2 separate regions of the Homo sapiens genome follow, and region 1 is linked to region 2. Evidence: promoter capture Hi-C in 16 types of primary human blood cells and fetal thymus (Javierre and others, 2016). All regions are on one chromosome and are shown on one strand. The core of a region is centred on a gene start or on the middle of the fragment in contact, and the rest is flanking DNA. Distances in the headings are between cores, read along the strand shown. Region 1 overlaps LINC02288 (long intergenic non-protein coding RNA 2288). Region 2 holds the start of LRRC74A (leucine rich repeat containing 74A).

Evidence for each region. Contacts are between HindIII fragments. The CHiCAGO score rates a contact against its expected background, and 5 or more counts as called.
Region 1: a fragment that was not itself captured here is called in contact with the fragment with the promoter of LRRC74A in region 2 in 1 of 17 cell types (M2 macrophages); the score reaches 5.2 in M2 macrophages.

What each region holds. Positions count from the first base shown.
Region 1 is chr14:77,052,896-77,056,994 of GRCh38, reverse strand. The region is part of intron 1 of LINC02288 (long intergenic non-protein coding RNA 2288); the gene reads right to left. Among named protein-coding and RNA genes, the nearest start is that of LINC02288, 14 kb to the right of the region's middle. RefSeq lists a silencer at 3,545-3,594 and an enhancer at 3,406-3,969. The HindIII fragment of the contact is 7,363 bases long and covers 1-4,099 here.
Region 2 is chr14:76,825,077-76,829,508 of GRCh38, reverse strand. LRRC74A (leucine rich repeat containing 74A) reads right to left here and starts at 3,101. Exons shown (of 14, transcript NM_001385106.1): 1 at 2,775-3,101; 2 at 1,090-1,218. The coding sequence starts at 2,811. RefSeq lists an enhancer at 490-1,177. The HindIII fragment of the contact is 9,425 bases long and covers 1-4,432 here.

The DNA of each region.
Region 1 (4,099 bases), core at 500-2,999, 230 kb before region 2:
CTACTAAATAAATAAATACATAAATAAGCCTGGTGCTATGGAGCACACCTGTGGTCTCAGCTACTCGGGCTGAGGCAGGAGGACTGTGTAAGCCCAGGAGATCGAAGCCGCAGTGAGCTGTCATCGTGCCACTGCGCTCCAGCCTGGGCAACAGAGTGAGACCCTGTCTCACAAAAAATTAAATTAAATTAAAAACAAAAATAAAGGCCGGGCATGGTGGCTCACGCCTGTAATCCCAGCACTTTGGGAGGCTGAGGGAGGTGGATCACCTGAGGTGGAGAGTTTGAGACCAGCCTGGCCAACATGGTAAAATCCTATCTCTACTAAAACTATAAAAATTAGCTGGGTGTGGTGGCGGGCACCTGTAATCCCAGCTACTCGGGAGGCTGAGGCAGGAAAATCACTTGAACCCAGGAGGCGGATGTTGCAGTGAGCCAAGATCGTGCCACTGCACTCCAGCCTAGGTGATAAAGCAAGATTCTGTCTCAAAAAAACAAAACAAACAAATAAAAACATCATTGCCATTGCTATATTGGATTGGGCAAAGGATGGGAGAAGAGGGAGCCAGAGCAAGGAGTGCTTGTGATGGAGCAGCCAGGCTGCAAAACATCATTGCCATTGAATCTGGGCTGATCTGGTGTCTTGCTTGGGGCAGTAGAAGTGGTGGAAGTGACACTGTCCCAACTTCAGGGCTAGTCCCTAAGTCTGGCAGCTTCTGCTTTCATTCCCTTGGATGAAATATAATTCCCAGCTGCCATGTAATTAATCCAGTTGACCTGAAACCACCATGCTGACCACGTGGAGAGGCCATGCAGAGGAGCGCTGAGGTGCCAGGCCTGTAAGTGACGCCTTCTTGGCCCTTCCCTCCCAGTCCAGCTGCCAGCTGAATGCAGCTGAGTGACCCCAGCTGACACCACATGGAGCAGAAGAACCACCCAGCCAAGCCCTGCCCAAATTCCTGACTCACAAAATCATGAGAAATAATAAATTGCTGTTTTAAGCCACTAATTTTTATTTACTTTTTCCTTTTTTATTTTTTATTTATTTATTTTTTTTTGAGATGGAGTCTTGCTCTGTCTTCCAGGCTAGAGTGCAGTGGCGCAATCTTGGCTCACTGCAACCTCCACTTCCCAGGTTCAAGTGATTTTCCTACCTCAGCCCCAAGAAGCTGGGACTAGAGGCCCTGCCACCACATCTGGCTAATTTTTGTATTTTTAGTAGAGATGGGGTTTCACCATATTAGCCAGGCTGGTCTTGAACTCCTGACCTCAGGTGATCCGCCCGCCTCGGCCTCCCAAAGTGCTGGGATTGTAGGCGTGAGCCACTGTGCCTGGCCTTAAGCCACTAATTTTTGAAAGTCAATTGTTATGATCTTGTTCTGATACACACAAGATCAGGAAGCGTGACAGGCCTCAATTTCCTGATCTGTAAAATGAGAGTTAAATGAGATCATGCATCTAAAACCCCATGCCTGGGGCCTGGCACCTTGCCTGTGCTTCACTGAGAATCTATGATTCTCAGCCAAACAATGCCACGATTCTGTACCCATGCTCTGCCCTGACTGAGTGATGGCCACGCAGACCGTGTTGTTCCAGGTCCTCAGATGAACAGCCATCATTCTCCTCTAATGGAAATGGCCTGTCACCATGGCAGCACCCTGGCTAAGAGCAGTGGCTTCTAAACCAGATAAGCATGGATGTAAGCCCTTCTCTGTCGGTTTCTAGCTTTGTGACCTTAGGCAAGTTATTGACTGTCTCTGAGTCTTGGTTTCTTCACCTGAAAAGAGAAGAAGTCAGCCAACCTCCCTCTCCAGGAAATCTACCCTGATTAGCCTCTCCCCACCATATTTCTCTAAATAGAGCTTTGTCATGGCTTGTTTACAAGACAGGTATTAGTTTCAAAACTTTAAGAAAAGGGATGAAATTAACTATATTGGTTGGAAAAGGGGATTGGGGGACCCCTGACCATAATTTATTAATAATAGAGCCCAACACCTCCTGCCTCTTCCCATCGCCTCTCTCCTTGTTCCCACTAGGACAGCCTCTCTGACCATGCTTCAGTATCTTTGAGTTTGCCATTTCTTCTGCCTGGAACCCTCTTCTACCAAATAGCTTCATAGCTCACTCTCTCATCTCCTTTTGGTCTTTATTTAAATGTTACTTTTTCAATGAGACGTTCCCTGACCACCCCATTTAAAATCCCCCACTCATTTTGGGGCACCCTCTTTTTTGCTTTAGTTTTCTCCATAACACATATTACCCTCAAACATCATGTTTATGTTACTTGCTTATTTACTTTTCTATCCCAGACTCCCCCCTGCCCCCCCCACACAAATGTATGCTCCAGTGGGGCAGGATTTTGTGTTTGTGTTTGTCTATTTTGTTTACTAATATTGCCCTAGTACCTGGCTATAGCTCAAAGTTTGCTATATGAGTGTGTACAAAAGCACACGCACCCATACATATCCTGAGCGTGGGGTGAAACTGTGGACATCTTGAAAGAATAAGCTGGACCCGACTTGGGTTGTGTGTTGATAGGGGTGTTAAAGCATTCCTCCAGCATCAACTGGCTTCCAATCCTCACCTTTGCTGTGTGTGTGTGTGTGTGTGTGTGTGTGTGTGTGTGTGTGTGTGTAATGAAGGCCATGGGGAGTAGAAAATTGGATGTTAATAAAAAGTCATCAAGAACATATTTCCTATCCTCTTCTAGCCCTTAAAGCCCTACCAACCATGAAGGATTTGCCCAGTGGTCTGGGGGAGAACAGGAATCCGGGCAGGCGATGGTTCCTACCAGGTTGGCACTGAGGCTAACCAGTCCAATTAATTTAAGGAGAAATACCCATGTGTCACCTGGAGAGAAAGTTGCAGGGTAACTGCACGATCCTCCCACATCCACTCTGATGACCTCTCATTAGAGGTTAGGGCTCTATCATTGCCCTGGAGCAGAATGGCTTGGGGCGGGGGTCTTCCGGGGTTCCTGGTAGATGGAGAGCCTGGGGAGATTGGCATGACAGGGTCCCTTCAGAATGAACCAAATGAATGACAGCCCAGGCTCAAAGGGATGAGGTTTCCTTTGAGAAGAGATGGCTGTTGGTGGTGACTGTTAGTTCCTACTAATGACAGCGACCTTGAAATCCATACCCAGGGTCTCTACCCTCTGGTTTGAGGGGAAGGAGTAGAGAAGTCTTCCATGCTACAGATGAGAACCTGAAGCTCTGAGGGATTATGTTCTCTGTCTAAGATTACCGCAAGTCCACGATGCCAGGACCTTTGTTCATTGCTATATCCCGATGCAGAACCATTTCTGTTGAATGAATGAACATTCAAGCAGATATTGATAGTCTCTGGGCTTGAACCCATGCGTGGTCGACACCAAAACTAGTTGGCTCCAAAAACCTAGCTTATCTTTCACTCATTTTGCATCCCTCCCAAAGCCTGGCGGGGTACCTGACACCTGGGGGGTGATCTGTGAATATTGGGTCAATTGACCCGGCAGCAGCAGGTGGTGCTAACACGAACCACCTGAAGACCCCCAGCGGACAGGCGGGACCTCTGCTCGCAGCCAGCAGGGGGCGCGCACACATTGTTTTCCAGTGGGCTCACCTCCCCAGGCCCCCTTTGCAATCCTGTCCCGACGAGTGGTGTATTAGACAGAAAGGGCCCTCCCTCAACCAGCCTGTTTTATGTCAGGAGGCTTCAAATTATGCGGTCTTCCCCAGCAGGCAGCCCTCTGGGACGTGTGGCTCCTACACCAGGCGCTGTGCTAGGCCCTTGACACGCATTATCTCATTTCATCATCTGAGGTACTGATATCAATTTTACAAATGAGACTACTAAAGTGCTATTTTTACCCATTTTACAAATGAGAATACTGAGGCTTGGGGTTGTTCAGGGACTCGTACCCCTCTACCCTTGAGGCCTCGCCTCTTTGGGGTGGTGGGACCCTAACAAGTCCTGGCAGAGGCCTGAGCTTCTGGAGAGGGCCAGATGGGAAAGACCACTTCTCAGAAGAGGAATGGCTCCTGCCCGGGTTCTTCTCCAGTTCCTGCCTCCTCATGGTTTGTCACTGTTTCCCAGAGCTCTGGGCAGACACCTTGGGC
Region 2 (4,432 bases), core at 1,852-4,351:
GTTGTCCTTTGCTACCTTCTCCAACCATGTGAATGAAGTTGGGTGTTAGAAGCAACGTTAACAACAGACTTGAAGTGGACAAGAAGCCAGAAAAAGAGCAACAAGCTGCCTGGGGGTCAGCGGGGAGGAGGTCTGCGTAGAAGGGTGAAGATGTATGTTGTATGTTGACCATGGTGGGGAGGTTTATAAACTGACTCTATGCAGATGAACTTCACAGTTTAATTTGGCAGAACTGGCCTTCCTCCATCTCTGCTGCCTGTGAATCACTGCCCACCAGCCAGCTGCAAGGATGCAGGGGAGGAAGGGTGACTGGGCTAGGCTTGGCCTGGGAAGTTTGAGGCTGACCCTGTCAGATGGAACCAGCGTCATTCTCTTGCTTCACAAGTGTTCTCTTTCGGTGCTTCCCTTCTTGGGGAAACTGGGAGGAGAGAGAGGGTGGAGGTGTTATTTGCATTAACAGAGTCTTTGTTTCAGCTCAGCCAGTCCCGATACCCAGGCATGCTTAGATTTATCAAGAAAAGTAGGGGAAACCAGAGCTCTAAGGTGAGTGTGGGAAAGTCACTGGGATGCAAGATAGGCCACAGAAACACTCCAGGGGCCTGGGATATGGAATACAGAAGGCAGAACCATCAGAGTGAGTCAAACACGGGATCAGCCAACGTGCTGGGCAAACTCCCGCTGTCCCTGGGCAATGCCTATAATCTCTTTAAGGCCCAGTTCCTCTTCTGTTGAAAACTGGCAAAGATGCCTACCTCCTAGGACTATTGCAAAGATTGCATAGGATGCCCCACGTGGAAACATTTAGAAGATTAGAAAACCTTGTTTGTGTATTGATTCCGCTTTTAACAAGACGACGTGAGGGCACTGCTCCTGAGGCAGGTGACAAGCGTGGGAAGCTGCAGCTGCTCTCCCCTGCCAGCCCGGAGGAGGACTCCAGGCAAAATCGAGCAGGCCTTTCTGCCACATTTCCTCCACAGGCCATCCGCAGGGCAGACTCTGGAAAGGAGTGAGATGACAGCTCCTGGAAACCAGATTTCTCCAGTTTCTGAGGAGAAGCTGCCCTGACTGCCCCCAAATGCCCATGCTCGCCTTCAATCTCCAGGTCTGTTTCCGAATTCTCCCGGGCTGGTTTCACTTTTTCAACAGTCGGCGGGGATTCGGCCTCACAGTAGAGCATTTTATCGCTGCTCTGTCGTACTGGCTCAATTTCAATCTCATCTGGAAGAAAAAACTCATCTCCTTGATGCCAGGAATAAAACTTGCTGGCCTCCCAATAAAGCCTGCCGCTGCCGCCCCTCCATCTCTGCTCCCTTCCTCTGAGTCCCAGGTCCTCAAGGTGCCAAGCCCTGCCAGGGCAAGTCCACTCTACAAACCTCCCTTCCCCAATAGCGCTGCCTCCGGCTGCAGGGTCTACGGGAGCTTGTGAAACCAACTCCCTTCTGCTCCCTGGAGACCGGCTGCTCCTTCCCCCTTCCCTGTCTGAGGCGTGCCTTGGAGATCGGCTCCTTGCTCACACTTTCCCATTCTTAAGTGTTTGGGTGGGTTTTGGGGTGTGCTGTTACTCTTTCAGGTGAAAGGGTGGGTCCCGATACATAGGCTTCCTTATTGTCAGGCACAAATGGTGCCAGGGAGTATAAGGGGCAGGGCAGGGCAGGGGAGGTGACAACTTAGGTCAAATAGAAAATAAAATGGACCAGGAGCAGTTCCAGAGAGCAAGAGAGAGAACTTGATTCCTAAGAATTTGACTTAGCTTCTCTTCCTTCCAATCTAACATTGATTTGTGATTAGGAAGAAGGAGGGGCTTGAAAATCTCCCTTGGGTCGAAATGAATTACTATGATTAATTCATAGTAATGAATTAATCATATTCATTGCTGGGAACAGAGCTCCCCTCACACCAGTCCTCTGCACTTGCTAGATGTGGTTTTACCACCTCTGGGCCATTGACCTGGGATCAGCCATAGGCTCCTGAAAGCCATGGGCTTCTGGAAGCCACACATAAAATCCAGAGCTCAATCCTTAGGCACTGACAGGACTCAGTAGTTTCAAGAAGCCATGCCATGCCTCTGAATGACCTGTCAGAATTTAGCCAACCTACTCATTGGGTGGGCTGAGCATTTGTGGCAGGGGTCCCAAGTTTTGACCACCCAGATTCTAGGATGGTGGGGTTCCTAATGAGTCCATGCAGGTCTTTCTTAATCCTTGTCCATAGACCCAGGTTCCAACATTTATCTCCCAGACTGTCTGGGATACACAGTGCAGGTAGCAGTGGCCTGGTAGTTAGAAGACAGACAACAGCTTGGCTGTCAGACTGCTGAGTGCCCTTAGAAAAGTGATGAATTTCTGAGTGTTAATTTCCTTGTCAAACAATTTAGAATTCCATTCAACCAGTAGAATGCTGGTAAATTTTAACAATTGATTCTCCAGGAAAAAAAACAAACAACACCAAAAACATCCTGATTTATAGTGTTAGCCAATTCATGTGGTGTAAATATTCCCAATGTGACTGATTTCAAACTATAAATGTGGTATCAACTGGCCCACACAATAAAAATTAAAGCTGGCTAGAGCCAGTATGAGGTAGTTGTGGCATAGCACTGCAGCCAATTCTTCCTGTTTGCCAAGGCCTGAACCCAAGTCAGTATAACAAATCATCCTACTTCTAGAGGGTCCCAGGTGAGGAAAGAAGTGGGCTTCAGGGTCCTGTGATCACTAGGTGTTGTACTGAGGCAGCAGGGACGGGCCTGAGTGGTGAGAGATGGGATGCCCTTTCACCTTCTGTCTCAGGCTGAAGAGGCTTGTCATTGTCCATGGTGCCAGGACCCTCTTGAGGGCAGCTGCCAACTTCTTGCCACCTCTCGACTGCTTCCCTAAGAAGCACACCTGTCCATTCACCTCTGTCTCAAACTCTGTGAACTTCCCTCACCTGGGGGCATCCCAGGGGAGCCTGCAGTTATCCTTCCCTCCCAGCAAGCCCTGGGAAGAGTAGGCTTTGATGGGAATTGGATGTGCATGAATTTGACCCCAACTCTGTCTGGGAGAGGTAGCTACTTCTCCAGCTCATCTGGGAGAGTGGGACTGCTCTATTGCTGGGAGCCCTGTTGAAAGGATCCCCACCCGCCTGTGACTTTGTGACTCAGGAGCCACTTTCATTTCATCTTCAACATTCTGTGACCTCATGCAGTCATTGTGATTCACATGGTGGACCTGGCAACAGCAGGCTTCCCGCCCTCTGGGTGGTTCTGGCAGTCACCTGTTCTCATATGTCTACTGGGGCCAAGCCCAGGCTTGGCTGTGAGTGCTCAGGTGCTGTGGGGGGTTCCTCTCAGTGGTGTTGTATTTCCCTCTGAGTCAGGACCCAACCCAAGCCCCTTAATTAGGTGACTGTGAAGAGCTGCCATCATGTTCTTCTCGCAAGAGAGCTGTGCTTCAGGTATGAAGTATTTCAGTGACGGGTGAAGTCAGTTTTCTTCTGCCCAGCTCTTCTTCCTTTTTTCTTTTCCCCGTGGGAGAGCATCTTAACCTTGGAGCTGAAGATCAAAAGCACAGCGCAATGAACATATGTCCTATCACTACAGTTTGTTGCAGCCAAAGCATTGTTCAATCCAAACTATGGGGCTGCCTACCTTGAGACGGTTCAACTAGCATTCCCACACTCGGCCATTCTCACATGTGTTGGAGTTGAAGTCCAGTTGCAGTTTGGTTTCGGGAGAATCTGGAGGCACATTTGTTCTTTCTTGATAAGTTTTCAGGACATCAATGGTCAGGTCAGTGACTGGAGGGTTTGAGGATGTGAAAATTCCTTTTTTTTTTTTTTTTTTTTGCTACTCAGAATGAGGAAGATCTAGAAATGTGTGCAAGGAAAACATGATTAGAACCATGGATCAGAAGAAATATGTATACCTGAGATGTTACTTGTTCCTTCAAGCATTCATGCTGAGAAATACATATTGAGTCTCTATTACGTACGGGCGCTAAAATAGGCACCACTGTGGGGAAGGGATGCAGACATGATTAAGACAGGACCCTTTTAAGGCATGTGCAATGCATAATAGAAATTGACAGGGCCACCCTAGGGTGAGGGTCCTGGGCAAATATTTTTGGTAGAGTTCTTGCTTGTATAAACAATTTGAGTCACCCTAAATCGGCATGGCAGCACCATTCTGGTGGCCCAATCTCATGTGGTCCTTCTAAAGAAATACCAAACAGTCCAGGGAGAGTGATCAGCTCCTAGGATGATCAGGTAGACATGAGTCCTGGTGATCCTCAGGGCATCTGGCTGGCCCACACTATTGCAGAGGATAAGGAAGCATTAAGGGGGAGAAAGAGGGATCAGAGAGCATGTGTGTCCTGGTCTAGGGCTCTGGGTGCTCTACTTGGACGGCACCATCTGGTCTCAGGTACTGAAGGGTGAGTGAGAAAATCTAGAGGTA